Linked DNA regions of Homo sapiens: region 2 is linked to region 1. The links are contacts of gene promoters, found by promoter capture Hi-C in human tissues and cell types (Jung and others, 2019). All regions are on one chromosome and are shown on one strand. The core of a region is centred on a gene start or on the middle of the fragment in contact, and the rest is flanking DNA. Distances in the headings are between cores, read along the strand shown.

Region 1 (7,727 bases), core at 3,692-6,191:
GGCGTGGTGGTGTGCACCTGTAGTCCACGCTACTTGAGGGGCTGAGGCAAGAGGATCGCTTGAGCCCAGGAAGTCAAGGCTGTCAGGCCGGGCCTGGTAGCTCACACCTGTAATTCCAGCACTTTGGGAGGCCGAGGCGGGTGGATCACCTGAGGTCAGGAGCTCAAGACCAGCCTGGCCAACATGGTGAAACCCATCTCTACTAAAAATACAAAAATCATTTGGGCATGGTGGCGCATGCCTGTAATCCCAGCTACTCAGGAGGCTGAGGCAAGAGAATCGCTTGAACCTGGGAAGTGGAAGTTGCAGTGAGCCGCATCAAGCTACTGCACTCCAGGCTGGGTGACAGAGCGAGACTCTGTCTCAAAACAAAACAAAACAAAAAAAGGCTGCAGTGAGCCATGATTGAGCCAGTGCACTACAGCCTGGGCTACAGAGTGAGACCCCGTCTAAAAAGAAAGAAAGAAAAAAAAAACACTAAGGAAATTTGAATAGAGTATGAACTTTAGTTAATAATAATATGTCAATATTGGTTCATTAATTTTAACAATGGCACCATACTAATGTAAGATATTCATACTAAAGGAGACTGCACATGAGGTATATAGGAACTCTCTGATCTATCTTCTCAATTTTTCTGTAAATTTTTATTTTATTTATTTATTTTTTTGAGACAGAGTCTCACTCTGTCGCCCAGGCTGGAGTGCAGTAGCACGATCTTGGCTCACTGCAAGCTCCGCCTCCCGGGTTCACGCCATTCTCCTGCCTCAGCCTCCCGAGTAGCTGGGACTACAGGCGCCCACCACCACGCCCAGGTAATTTTTTTTGTATTTTTAGTAGAGACAGGGTTTCACCATGTTAGACAGCATGGTCTCGATCTCCTGACCTTGTGATCCGCCCGCTTCGGCCTCCCAAAGTGCTGGGATTACAGGCATGAGCCACTGCGCCCGGCCTGTAAATTTTAAATTATTTCAAACAGAAAATCTTTTTTTTTTTTTTTTTAATAGAGACAAGTTCTCACTATGTTGCCCAGGCTGGTCTTGAACTCCTGGACTCAAGTGATCCTCCTGCCTCAGCCTCCCAAACTGCTGGGATTATAGGTGTGAGCCACTGCACCCAACCAGAAAATTTATTTTTAATTAAGTCAATTAAATCATTCCTTTTAATCTTGGTCTTAACTAAGTCAACAATTACTACTGGTAGTTAACTTGTATAGAGCATTTTGTATTGAGGCACAGCTTTGGGTGATTTGCATAATATGCTATTATACTCACAATACTCACCTTACAAATATAGAAACTGAGACATGAGAGAGCTCATTCATGCAACTTTTAACAACTGTTTATGAGTGAGTTAGTGAGTGTCCTGGAAGAGTGTGCCCATGGTCTGGGCTCCTCCACGGAGTGCCCTGCAGTTGTCTCATGTGCCACTGTCCAGGTTGAGCTCAATCAAGTGACCCCACCCCTCTTCACCGGGATCCTCCTCCTTGACCATTATGTCACTGCCACCATCTGCCAGGTCTCCCCAGGAGTCATCCTGCACTCTTCTGTCACTTCTCAAATCTAACTTGACACCAAGTCCTGGGGGCCCTTCTTCGGAAAGTTCTCCCCAGCCTATGTTCTTTCTCCTGTTTGGGTCCTCACTGCTTCTCCTTTGCCTCTGCTCGGGTCTCATCTGCTCTGAGGGGATCTCCACCTAAGCCACCACCCATTTTTCCAGAACCCACATCATATACTCTCTCAACCCCAACCAAAACCTTCCCATGGCGCATTGAATAACTTTGCAACCTGGCCACAGCCCGCCTCATTCCCTCCACTCCCTAGCACTCCACCGTTGTACCCCAAAATCACACTGCTTGCAGGCCATTGCTGTTTTCTTTTCCTTTCCTTTCCTTTTTCCTTCCTTCTTTCCTTTCTGTTTTTCTTTTTTTGAGGCAGAGTCTCACTCTGTCACCCAGGCTGTAGTGTAGTGGCACAACCTTGGTTCACTGCAACCTCTGCCTCCCAGGTTGAAGCGATTCTCCTGCCTTAGCCTCCCGAGTAGCTGGGACCACAGGCATGCACCACCACACCTGGCTAGTTTTTGTATTTTTAATAGAGATGGGGTTTTGCCACGTTGGCTAGGCTGGTCTCAAACTACTGGACTCAAGTGATCCTCCCACCTTAGCCTCCCAAAGTGCTGGAATTACAGGTGTGAGCCACCGTGCTCAGCCCTGCTCTTGGTTTTCTTGAGGACTGCATAATACCTTCTCTTTTTGCCCTTAGAGGTCCTACATGCTCTTCAAGTCTTAGGTCAAATTCAACTGCTTTCTTACACAGATCCTCTCTCTCATTGGCTTAGCAGTCACCTGTTACCTGTCTCATGGTAACTGCTACAATGACTCTGAGGACTAGAGGCTGGTGCGTATGTCTCTAGCTGTGAGTTCCCTAAGGCACCTCTGTATCTTCATGCTCAGAAATCACTGGGTTATTTCCTGCAGTTTCTATCAAAGCAAAATGTCCACACTGCATCATTAGGGGCCCCCAAGTGGCCAGAATAAGAAAAGCCAGCTGGGCGCAGTGGCTCGCACCTGTAATCCCAGCTACTGGGAAGGCTGAGACAGGAGAATGGTTTGAGCCCAGGTGTTTAGATGAGCTATGATCACATCACTGCACTCCAGCCTGGGTGACAGAGCAAGATCCCATCTCTAAAAAGAGTTCTGAGGGATCCAGAGAGGCTTCAGGAAGGAGGAGGACTTGAGAGAGACTGTCAGATGAAAGTCACATTTAGAGTTTATTAAGCACATGCTCCATGTTGGGCATTATACTATAGCAGTGAGCTTTCACGTGGATCCCTCATTTACTTCTCAGCACAGACCTACTAGGTAGGTATTTGTCTCTGTAGATGAGGAAACTGAAGCTAAGAGCATCAACTGTGCAGTGTCACAGCTAGCAAGTGGCTGGGCAGGGATAAGAGATACAGCTTGCCCTTGGAGATCATACATGCACTTCAAGTCTTGGGTCAAATTCAGCTGCTTTCATACAGGAATCCTCTCTTTTGATGCCCTAGCAGTCATCCCTTACCTGTCTCATTGCAACTGCCACACTTGATTCTGTGGCTCTCAAAGAATCCAAAGTCCAGCCTAAGAACTGAAGAATGAGTAGGTGGAAATGCACTGTGGTAATCAACGCATAAGGGAGACTGTACTGAGTCTGCCACAAACAGGGTCCACCCAGGCCTATCCCATACATCCCGGAGAGCCATGGAGCCCAACAATGGGGTGCTGGGGTCCCTGAGGCTGTAGCTGGAAGTACTCTGTGTCCCTAAGGCAGCACTCCTATGCTGACCTCCAACTGCTAATGGGCTCTGTGCAGCAGGGACAACCCTCTGCACAGTCCAGACCTGAGGGCAGATGGCAGGTGACCTGGGGGTGAAGTGTTATGTATGGAGCAGGGCAGCTCCCTGTCTGGGATCACTTTTCTTAGAGGAAGCCTCCTGCCTATTGTCCTGCTCCTGCACTTCCCTCCTGGGACCTGGCAACCTCAGGTGGGAAGGCTGCATTGAGGCTGCAGGCTTGGTCAAGAGAAGCAGGACCCTGGTGCGAAGGGAAATGAGCCTGGACAGCATACTTGTCACCTGCCCCAGGACTAGTGCCCCTCCAAGCCAGAGAGCCCAGATAGCCCTCAGTGGGGCTGGTGAGAGTCACAGTTCTCCGCACGTGGCCAGGAAGTTGAGCAAGAGTAACCCAACCACATAAGGTATGGTGCAAACCTGGAAACTTCTGAGAGCAAAGGGATGCTCTTAGTTGTTAGGCGGGGGCCGCCCAGCAGAGCCAGGACGGTGGCGACCCTAGTCCAGAGCCTTCCACTTTAGCAAGGTAGAATCCAAGGGCCCCAGAAGGGAACAGACTCCATCTGGGTCGCCTAAGCAGGTGAGAGAGGAAAACCCAACCACAGTCGCGCCCCAGCCCTCGCAGGTCCCTGGCTGAGGACTCCCCTCTCCACCTCAGGCTGGGCGGCCCCCGCCTTCACGCTTGCTCCCACTTGTCCCTCGTTCTTGCTAGGCTTGGCAGGTATTTGTTCCCTGCTCCTTCACGCTCTCAGTGCCGTGGCCACGTCGCTGGGTACGCCCCACCAGGCAAGAGACATTTTCCGTCTTGTTCTCTGCCACGTCCCCAGAGCCTGGAACAGTGCTTGGCACAGAGTGGACGCTCATTCGTGGAGTAAGTGCCTGATGGATAATCCATCACTTGCTTTTCTAGTATGAATGGTCTATTTACGGGTCCAGCGCCCCTGCTGGCTTACGACCTTTTCCAGGGCGGGGAGGGGCTGTCCTCATCTCTGTGACCCCAGCGCCCAGCCCAAGGCCTGGCACAGAGTAAGTGCTCAACCACATTTTGGTGAATGAGTGAATGGAAGCGGCCCAGCAACCCTGAGCCAAGGAGCCACTGTGGGGCAGGTCAGGGCGGTTCCTGGCACAGGGCTTCCCACTAGCCTGGCCACCAGCTCTGCGGTCTCCTGGAAGCTGGGGGGCCTTTGGGTAAGGGAGAAGAGTGGCCAGGAGTTGTCTGCGTGTGCCCTGTGACGGTGGGATAGAGACAGCGATTGGATTGAGGAACGGGAGGTTCCCCGAGGCTGTTTAGAGAGGCGGGAGCGGGAGCTGGTCAGGGAGGCTGGACAGACCACCCGAGGGAGCGGAGCTTGGGCACGAAAGCCAAAACTGGGCGGCGCGGGGCGGGTGGGGAAGGCCGGCTGAGAAAGCCGGGATTGCCTCCTGGTGTCAAAGCTCGGAACTGCAGCAGGATCCTGGGGGCGGGGCTTGTGTTCAGCAGCACTCGCCACGCGCCCAGCCCTCAGCCCTCGTCTCGCCTTCTGCTGGCTGGCCCGGCGACGTTGTGCGCCAGCGTACGCGGGGCTCTGAGAACCCGGAAGTTACGTTTTAGGCCCGCGTCACGGGGGCGGGAGTCAGCTGAGCTGCCGGGGCGAGGTTGGGATCACCTGGCACCGGCTGAAGGGAGCCTGTGATTTTTTTGTAGCGGGGGCGGGGAGTAAGGTGCAAGACTGCGCCAGATTCAAGGACGAGGGCTGCCCGATTATCTCGCTGCATAAGGCAAGAGCAAGAGGATCCTCAGGATTTTAAAGAGGAGGCGACGGCTGCAGGTTCCCAGGATCTGTCAGAGGCTGGGGAGTTACAGCTTCCATTCTGGGGCGACGGGGACCCCGGGGGGGTAGCCCTTTTGTAATCCCCAGGCCCCGGACAAAGAGCCCAGAGGCCGGGCACCATGGCGTCCATCCTGGATGAGTACGAGAACTCGCTGTCCCGCTCGGCCGTCTTGCAGCCCGGCTGCCCTAGCGTGGGCATCCCCCACTCGGGTAAGGAAGAGGAGGGTGCCGCTGCCCCTTTCGGCTCTCCTAGCATTTGCGTGGGAGCAGCGAGGAGGGCAGCTCCAAGAGCTCGGGGTCATCCCCTGGGCCGTGCCTTCCGGGTCTAGGCCCCTGATTCTCCTCAGGCTCTCTTGGCCCCCAGCTGGTGGATAGTCGAAGTTTGAAAGAGCAACGGGAGCTGCCGCGTGATCTAGGCTCTACCGCTAGGGTCCTTTTGAGAGGGAATTGGGGCCCAGATAAGGAATTACTCACCTACAGGGCGCAGTTGGGCTGTTGGGAGAACTTAGAATGGGCTCCCGGCTTCTGCTGATGCTTTTCCCACCAGGCCCCTTCTGGAGGTGGGAGGGAAGGAATGGACAAAGAAAGTGGTGAAGGCGGAGTATTGCAGAGGAAGAAGGGAGGGTCCCAGAGGGAATTTTGTCGCTGAACGGGGAAAATGGAGATGAAATCTTTTTGGCCTTGGCTATAGCTGGGTGCAGCCTGGAGTTTGGGGACGTTTTTGTAGAAAGTAGTGAGTCTCCAGGAGAATGAGGGCATAGGGAGCCCTGGGGAACTGTTCCAGTGAGTGGAGTTAACGAATTGGAGCTGCTTTCACTCTAGTCTTTACCTTCATTCAATGCTCAAAATATCCCAGCACTTGCCAACTCTACACTGAGGCTCATTACCGCATGGGCAGGGAGGGGGGCAGAGAATGGGGCTATACTACTTCAGTTAAGCTGGGATTGCTGGGCCAAAGACCTGATAAGGGAGAATACCCAGACCACCAGTCCCGTCCCACCTCCACGCAGCCCCATTACCAGTGGGAGCAGGTATATCATGCTGTGACAGCATCTTAAGGGTTCAAAGAATCAACCCCTCACTGCTGTCAGAGTGTGGAAAGAGCTCCAGACCTCTATTGTAAAGGTGACCAGCAAACGACTTGATATCAAACTATTTGTTAACCAAGGTCCTGGGGATAGGAATATGTCAGGAAAGTGGCGAGGAGCACTGTGGTGTTTTTTCTGCCTCTCCTTGCCCTTCACCTGTCTCTTCCACAGCTAATCTTCTTGTCATTCCTTACCTGTAGGGTATGTGAATGCCCAGCTGGAGAAGGAAGTGCCCATCTTCACAAAGCAGCGCATTGACTTCACCCCTTCCGAGCGCATTACCAGTCTTGTCGTCTCCAGCAATCAGCTGTGCATGAGCCTGGGCAAGGATACACTGCTCCGGTAATCAAGAGCTCACAGAGCTTAGGAGTAGGGACTAGAGAGGTGTTTGGGGACTGTTAACTCACTGGGCCTTTCTTCTATTCCAGGCAAGTAAAGCAGTGAATTTGGAGTTTTCAGGAAATATCCTATCCCTTTCCAAAGAGAACCAATACAGGGTAGTGGTTAAGTATCTGGCCTGGCAGGGCATGGTGGCTCACACCTATCATCTCAGCACTTCGGGAGGCCAAGACAAGAGGATCACATGAAATCAGCAGTTTGAGACCAGCCTGGGCAATATAGTGAGACCCCCGTCTCTACCAAAACAAATTTTTAAAAATTAGCTAGGTGTGATGGTGCAGTCCCAACTACTGGGGAGGCCGAGGCAAGAGGATCACTTGAGCCCAGGAGTTCAAGGCTGCAGTGAGCTGTGTTTGCACCACTGTACTCCTGTCTCTTTAAAAAAAAAAAAAAGTCAGGTGCAGTGGCTCACACCTGTTATCCCAGCACTTTGGGAGGCTGAGGAGGGTGGATCACCTGAGGTCAGGAGTTCGACACCAGCCTGGCCAACATGGTGAAACGCTGTTTCTACTAAAAATACAAAAGTTAGCCGGGCGTGGTGGCAGGCGCCTGTAATCTCAGCTACTGGGGAGGCTGAGGCAGGAGAATTGCTGGAACCTGGGAGCCGGAAGTTGCAGTGAGCTGAGATTGCACCATTGAACTCCAGCCCAGGCGACAACAGTGAGACTCCATCTCAAAAAAAAAAAAAGGAAAAGGAAAAAAAAAAAAACTGTTTAGGAGTGTAGACTTAAGAGTATTAGAGTATTGATTAGAGCATTCTTGTGGTGGGAAAAACTGGATCCATGCTGAATGCTCATCAATAGGAAAATGGTGATTAAACTGCAATTCAGCCACAAAATAGAATATAATGCAGTTGTTTAAAAAAATGAATTATCCTGGCTGGGCGAGGTGGCTCACGCCTGTAATCCCAGCACTTTGGGAGGCTGAGGCAGGCAGATCACCTGAGGTCGGGAGTTCAAGACCAGCCTGGCCAACATGGAGAAACCCCTTCTCTACTAAAAATATAAAATTAGCAGGGTGTGGTGGCAGGTGCCTGTAATCCCAGCTATTTGGGAGGCTGAGGCAGGAGAATGGCTTGAACCCGGGAGGCAGAGGTTGC
Region 2 (7,727 bases), core at 3,690-6,189, 110 kb before region 1:
TGCCTTTGTCCCCCTACTCAGGAGGCTGAGGTGGGAGGATCACTGGAGCCCGGGAGGTTGAAGCTGTAGTGAGCATGTTCACACCACTGCATTTCAGCCTAGGTGACAGAGTGAGACCTTGTCTCAAAAATAAAAATAAAAAAATTTTAAATTAAATTAAAATAAAATAAAAAATTAGCCAGGCATAGTGGTGCGTGCCTGCAGTACCAGCTACTAAGGAGGTTGAGGAGGGAGGATCACCTCAGCCAAGGATTTTGAGGCTGCCGTGAGCTATGATGATGCCACTGCACTCCAGCCTGGGTGACAGAGCAAGACTCTCTCTTAAATACATAGAAAGAAAGAAACCCCAATATTTCTTACATAAGTAAAAATAAACACAGCTACCAAGATTCTCTTTCGTGTGCTACCTAATAGCTGTTGTAAGTGAAGACAGTGTACACAACCCCAGAATCCGTCCTCTGCCTCCAAGGCCTTTGCTTTCTCCCTTCTGCTTGGTGTGTGTTACCTGCTGCTCAAACCTCCTGGAGGAAGAGCTAAGCAGATTGGATTTCTAAGCTTCCAAGATGGACGCAAGAAACGCTTCTACACCCAAGTGTGCTAAATAAGGACTTTCAGAGGTAAGCAGCCAGCATCCACAAGGTGAGCACCTGCTGGGCAACTCCTCCATCCATGAGGCAGCCACCGGGCCCAGGACCTCTAGGGGTGTGCTGCCACCTGCTGGGCCATAGCCAGGGCACCTGCCATGGCAGCCCAAGCTGTTTGGTTCTCCTGACTGCCTTGGAGGCAGCAGGAACCACCCAGGACAGGCGCTGGGCAGAGAGGGTGTAGACGTGCCACCTGCCTTCCCAATCGCCCACCGAAGCACATCTGCCCTGCCTGCTCACCTCCCACCCTAACCCTCCCTGCCTAGCTCTGTTTTCACTACAAAAAAGAACAATATTAAGGGAAAGGAGGTGCTAGCTTAAGACAGTGTCATCTTTGCAATATATCATCTTTACTTTTTAGGTCCCTTATCATTCGTCTTTTCTTTCTTTTGCTCTCTTTGCCTGCTTTATTGTGCCTCCAGCCTCATTCCTTTACTGAACATATTTTATATTTCAGGGCCCCTGTTTGCTTTTTTTCAATAAGTAAAACAATACCAAAAACATTATAAAGATGTTCTTTCTCAATCTCCCCAGCCCTCTGACATCAAGGTTCATTAACACATATAAAAGCACCTACACACACTGACAGGAGTCTGTTGGGTGTTTGTTCCTGGCCTCTGGGCCCCTCCTCTCTGATCCTATCTCCACCCTCTCTCTGGGATGGGTGAGAGGAAGGGAGGGGGAGGCGGTCCATGTCCCAGTATCTATGGCATCACCTGCAACACTACCTTCAAGATGAACTTCCTCAGGACTAGGACTAGTAGGCTTGCCCCAGGGATGTAGGGGGGTTTTGTGGAAGATGTTTTCTTTTGTATCATGGGGCTCTTTTAAAGTGGTTTAGGCTGGGCATGGTGGCTCACACCTCTAATCCCATCGCTGTGGGAGGCCGAGGTGGGTGGATCACTTGAGGTCTGGAGTTTGAGACCAGCCTGGCCAACATGGTGAAACTTGTATCTACTAAAAATATAAAAATTAGCCGGGTGTGGTGGTGCATGCTTGTAATCTCAGCTATGGGGGAAGCTGAGGCAGAAGAATCACTTGATTCCGGGGGGCAGAGGCTTCAGTGAGCTGAGATCGTGTCACTGTACCCCAGCCTGGGTGACAGAGTAAGGCTCTGTCTCAAAAAAATAAAATAAAAGTTTGTATGTTCCTTGTTATAAATCTGAGAGGGGGAGTAGAAGTGAGTGTGAAGAAGAAGGAGCAGGCTGGGTGTGGTGGCTCACGCCTGTAATCCCAGCATTTTGGGAGGCTGAGGCGGGCGAATCAGTTGAGGTCAGGAATTCGAGACCAGCCTGGCCAACGTGGTAAAACCCCGTCTCTACCAAAAATACAAAAATTAGCTGGGCGTGGTGGCACACGCCTGTAGTCCCAGCTACTAGGGAGGCTGAGGCAGGAACCTGGGAGGCGGAGGTTGCAGTGAGCCGAGATTGCACCACTGCACTCCAGCCTGGGCGACAAAAATAAAATTCTGTCTCAAAAAAAAAAAGAAGGAGCAGTAAGAAAGCAAGACAGAAGGGGTGTCCAGCAGTGGCATCTCCTTCATTTTCTTTCCTTTTTTTGAGAGAATGCTTTCTGAATTTTATTCTAAGGGAATGATAAATATTCTTTTGTGTTTCATAATTTATTTTGAATGTTCTATATTGGAATTTTGGTTTTTCACTGTAATAGGAAAATAAAATTATTCAAGCTGAAAAATCCACTCATATTGTCAAATATGCTTTACATATATTAACTTATTTAATTCTTAAAGCCCCTATGAGGTAGAAATTATTATCCTCCTCATTTTACAAATGAGGAAACTGTGACATAAGGGTTAATTATGATACCCAAAATCCATTCAATGAAAAGCCATACAAACATTACTTTAGGCAAAAACTATTCTACTCCAGCCAATTACCACAGAAAAAACAGTGGACACCACCCCACCCATGCCATCAAAGGCCAGGTAGAGAGCATAGACTTCCATTCTTGCTACCCTAAACCTCTGCCAGAGTGGTGTCAGATAAAGCCAAACAGGGAGGCTAGGACTTTCATCCCCAACAGATGGAAATACAAAAATATAAAAATATCTCTGGGCCGGGCGTGTTGGCTTACACATGTAATCCCAGCACTCTGGGAGGCTGAGGCGGGCAGATCACCTGAGGTCAGGGGTTGGAGACCAGCTTGGCCAACATGGTGAAACCCCGTCGCTACTAAAAATACAAAAATTAGCTGGGCATGGTGGTGGGAGCCTGTAATCCCAGCTACTCAGGAGGCTGAGGCAGGACAATCGCTTGAACCCAGGAGGCGGAGCTTGCAGTGAGCCGAGATCATGCCATTGCACTCCAGCCTGGGAGGGAAGAGTGAAAGTCCATAACAACAACAACAACAAAACAACAACAACAACAACATCTCTGAAAGAAAAGGGATATCCCCGAAAAAGCTTCCAGTCTCAGTATCGTTTATTATTAAATAATCCTACCTTATAAACAGCTGAAAGGGTTATAGCTGATATTTACTTTCTATAATAAGCTTGTATTACTTTTCAAGTGATACAAGAAAAAAACTGGTAAGAAACAAAAACAAAATTGTTTAGCTTCTTTCCACAATTCTAAGCTAGGAGGCAGCATGGTTCACTAAAAGAGGGCAAGTTCTGGAGTCTGGCAGATGTATTTTCAAATTCGGAATCTTCTACATACTGATAGCATGACCTTGGGCAAATTACTGAAGCTCACACAGCCTTAGGGACTTCAACATCAAACTGAGAAGAATAAATCCTACACACAGGGCTGCTGGAAGGATTAAAGAAAATGATCCGTGTAAGCACCTGACAAAAACTAGGTGCTTCCTACAAGTTCCCAAACCTTTCTCTCCTCTACTTCTGGAAGAGGGTAAACTGTGACACCAGGCCAGCAGGATGCCAATTGGACAGGAATTCAGGAATGGACCCTGGTCCACAGTGGATGCAGGTCAACTCCATTTGAATTCTCTAGGTGGACAGGGCTGGATTTGAGTCTGCTGTGGGGTAGATCTAAAATTCAATCCTGGGTTCACTCCCAGGGTCTCTGAAATACTCTTATTCAAGGGGTAGAAGGGATGGGTAGGTAGCCTGAGATCTTCCAGAGTGGCCTTGAATCAAAACCCAGCTGGCCTAAGAATGTTGGTCAAGTATGTCTGTCTTGATTAACTAGTTATTACTATATTTAACTGTTAAACCTGCCCTGGGCAGGGCCCATCCCTTGGTTTTAGCCTGGAAGACCAGTTTTGACTTTGAACCGGTTGGCCTAGAATTTGGTGCTTTGTACTACAAACTAGATTCCCAGCTTTGTCCAGCCCTCCTGGAGTTGACTGCTGCCTGAAGAATTTCTCACCATGTAAACACAACTCTCCTAAAGCAGGCCTTTGAAAAACCTTCCGGTCTCAATATTGTTTATTATTAAATAATCCTACCTTATGAACAGCTCAAAAGGCTAGATTCAGGGTAAAAATGTACAACAATTATTTTTTATAACTATCACAAAATTGGGAAGGAGAGGAACTTTCAGAAGAACAAGAAATAGAAGGGCCATCCTCTATAATCTTACTCCTTATGATATAGGATAAACAGGACTGCTGAAAGCCAGGTATCCCGGGTTGGAAGCTCCTCCAGAAACTGACTCTGGCCCAGGTCCAGTGGCTCACGCCTGTAATCCCAGCATTTTGGGAAGGTGAGGCGGGAGGATCGCTTGAGCCCAGGAGTTTGAGACCACCCTGGGCAACAGAGCAAGACCCCATCTCTAAAAAGAGAAAGAAAGAAACTGTGTCTGCAGGTGCTGGGATCACTGAGGCAGAGCTGAAGCAGCCACAGCAAGGTGTGGCTTTTCACTTGCAGCTTTTCTTCTTTACCTATAGGTTTCCCCTAAATCCCCTGGTCTCTCTAGCGCTTAGAAACACTTGCATTTCTGAGACTTCACAAAGGATCCAGGTGACAGTTCAAATGTTTCCAACCCAAAGTTCCCCATCCAGATCATGGCTTTTCAGAGGAGAAGCTCTTTCTAAGGCCCAGCCTCAGAAGGACGAAGATCTCAGATAAATGTAAGCTCCGTGAGTACTTCGAACTGCAATTTGCAGAAACTTGGTCTTTCTCCTGATGGCTTTCTAAAAACCTCACTGTCTACCACCCTTTTTCCATCCTAGACTGGTTGAGTTTAATCTGTTTTTGATGTCTCAGGATCATCATCCAGAACATCAACTACTGAATAGTATGACACGTTCTACGGAGAGTGGTGTCAGGCTTTTCATTTGCTTCCCTAGGTGGCGAGGATTTTAAATTCTACTCTTTTAATAGTTTTCCTATTACTTCCTTAGTTGGCCTCTACTAGACTGCCAGATGCCAGCCCTTCCCTAGAAGTGCTGCTCATCTGCTGCTTCTTTTCTGGTATGGTCTAGAGAAACAGATAAGCTGGTTATAACTATACCTTAAATGAGAGCATAAGGGTATAGGAAGGTATGGGGGTTCCCCTTACAAATAAAGTGGATGTACTTAGGAGGCAGGGAGTTCTGCTTCTCCCCAGGGTCCAGAACAGTGAACAGCACCTGGCATTCAGCAGGCACACAATAAATATCTGTTGCATGAATTGGCAAACATTCATTTGTTCTCAACCAAAACACAATCGGAAACCTCAACTATGTCAATTACTTCAGACCCACTGAGGAGCAGAAGGAAGTAGGTGCCATCCAGACCCTAGGAGATCTGACCACTATTTCACAATTTCTCCTCCTCCCTGCTAACACCTCCTCTTAAAAAACCAAGTCTGGGAAAGGGAAGGAATTACTAAAGCAGACTGCCAGGATAACCACAGTGGGAACTAAATGTTACCCCCTCATTGCCCACATCAGACAATGAATAATAAATTGGCAGCCACCCAGCCCTTCCCCGGAAGCTCTATAACCGGTTCTACCACTTTCAGCAACCTGAACCCAGAGCAGGGGAGGAGGGCTGGAAGCTGGGTCTCTAGCCACCTCCACTGGGTTTTGCCGCAAGCACACAGCAGGGCCTCTGACATCCACCTGCCTCCAGTTTCACCTCTTGATGGGGGAAGGAACTCCTGACTCACCCAAAAAAGCTAAGTGCTAAGGGATCCAATAAATACAAAATAGCCATCATTAACTTAAAAGAAAGGTGCCCTACAAAGAAGGGATCATTATTTTTTAAAAGGTTGCTGTCCTTTCTTGTAATAAAGCTTGGAGCCAGGTAAGTAAGTGGTACAAGTAAAGAGGCCGAGGCTGATAGGTTAGACTTAGATAAGGAGGACACAGAGGGAGGCAGCTCTATGTGACAACAAGCACTGAATGGACAAAGCATCCCGGGTAAATCAGCTGGAAACCCACTGCCAGGCCCAGTTCCAGTCACAGGCACAGTGAGTGATAACAGCTGGGGCAGCCACGTCTCCCCAAGCCCGGAGAGGCAGATGCCTCCCCATCCCCTCACTAGCAGGAACCCCAGAGGTATATGACTGCCTGATGTCACACGCAGGAAGCAAACAACAGAGCTCTGGGCACCTGCCTAAAAGTCCCCTCTGGCCAGGCATGGTGGCTGATGCCTGTAATCCTAACACTTTGGTAGGCCAAAGCAAGAGGATCGCCTGAAGCCAGGAGTTCAAGATCAGCATGGGCAACAAAGCGAACCCCACCTCTACAAAAAATTTAAAAATGGGCCGGGCACGGTGGCTCACGCCTGTAATCCCAGCACTTTGGGAGGCCGAGGTGGGTGGATCATGAGGTCAGGAGATCGAGACCATCCTGGCTAACACGGTGAAACCCCGTCTCTACTAAAAATACAAGAAATTAGCCGGGCATGGTGGCGGGCGCCTGTAGTCCCAGCTACTCGGGAGGCTGAGGCAGGAGAATGGCATGAACCCGGGAGGCGGAGCTTGCAGTGAGCCGAGATCATGCCACTGCACTCCAGCCTGGGCCACAGAGCGAGACTCTGTCTCAAAAAAAAAAAAAAAAAATTTTTTTTTAAATGAGCCAGGCATGGTGGCATGCACCTGTAGTCCCAGCTACTTGGGTGGGGCTGGGAAGGATTATTTGAGTCCACGAGTTTGAGGCTGCATGCCACTGCATGCCAGCCTGGGCAACAGAGTGAGATCCATCTCTTTAAATAAACATAAATAAATAAAAATAAAAGAGAAGTTCCCTGTGCCTGAAAGATTGATCCTTTCATTCCTTACAGCCTGTGACCCCTATTGGGACAGCACTACAGAGAAGTCCCCAAATGCCTGGGCACTGTACAACCTATGGGCTGCTCCCAAGGCTTGGCACAAGCAGAGAGCTGGCCAACCCCAGACAGCCCCCTCAGCTCAATGCTCCCAAAACATGGGCCTGCTGGTGGTACCAAGATAATACCAGAGAACCTGGGCCTCACACTGACATCCCTCTCAGGCTGATAGCCATGGCCCATGGTTCAGTCTCAGAACAGGGGCCTGTGCCACCTAGAACAGCTGGGACCACACACGGAGCCTGGCCTGCTTCTCCCCAAATGATGGCCCTTGTACGCCCTTTGGGCTCTGGTTCCTCAGCCAATCCTGAGGCCACTCTTTAGCTCCTCCCATCCCCCCGGATCTCATCTCCAGGTCCCCCTTCCTTCACTCCCCCACAGTACTCCCTCCTATCCTGCTCTCCTCGGTCCACTTCCCCAAACCAGCCCACTTGAAACCCAGTCTACAGCCCTCTTTCTCCTCCTCAGATACCACCCTGCTCTCTGGCCCACCTCCTCCCTTTTAACCTTATCCTAACCACCGCTATATTAGGCTCAGACCCCAAAAGCCTTTCCTACCTTCTCTCAGCTTGTAGATTCTCATGCCCAGATCTGCCAGAAACGTCTCCCCACTGCCTGCTGTCACTCTTAACTCCTAGAGGCCTGGGTCTCTAGCCCCAGAACCACTTCCTCTGCCCAGTCTCTGCCCTTTCCCAGGGGGTAGAACTCCTTCCCTCTGGGCCCTGGTACTTCCTACACCTCATTCATTTCTGTCTTCCCTTAATGCATTGTTTCCTTTATAAACAAATTTGTATTAGTAAAAAGAAATTAGTTGATTTCGGAAGTCTGAGGCAGGAGAATGGCGT

Evidence for each region. The method cuts DNA at HindIII sites, captures the fragments that hold promoters and counts their contacts. A contact is called where the count stands out against the background at its distance.
Region 2: a contact is called between a fragment that was not itself captured here and the fragment with the promoter of VPS18 in region 1, in 3 of the 25 tissues and cell types used here (bladder, mesendoderm cells and thymus).

The regions. Positions count from the first base shown.
Region 1 is chr15:40,889,509-40,897,235 of GRCh38, forward strand. It overlaps VPS18 (VPS18 core subunit of CORVET and HOPS complexes), which reads left to right and starts at 4,942. Exons shown (of 5, transcript NM_020857.3): 1 at 4,942-5,351; 2 at 6,430-6,571. The coding sequence starts at 5,261. RefSeq lists silencers at 1,169-1,218, 2,487-2,536, 4,658-4,827 and an enhancer at 5,668-5,757. The HindIII fragment of the contact is 19,251 bases long and covers 1-7,727 here.
Region 2 is chr15:40,782,098-40,789,824 of GRCh38, forward strand. All of the region lies in intron 1 of DNAJC17 (DnaJ heat shock protein family (Hsp40) member C17), which reads right to left. Among named protein-coding and RNA genes, the nearest start is that of C15orf62, 16 kb to the left of the region's middle. The HindIII fragment of the contact is 6,259 bases long and covers 1,811-7,727 here.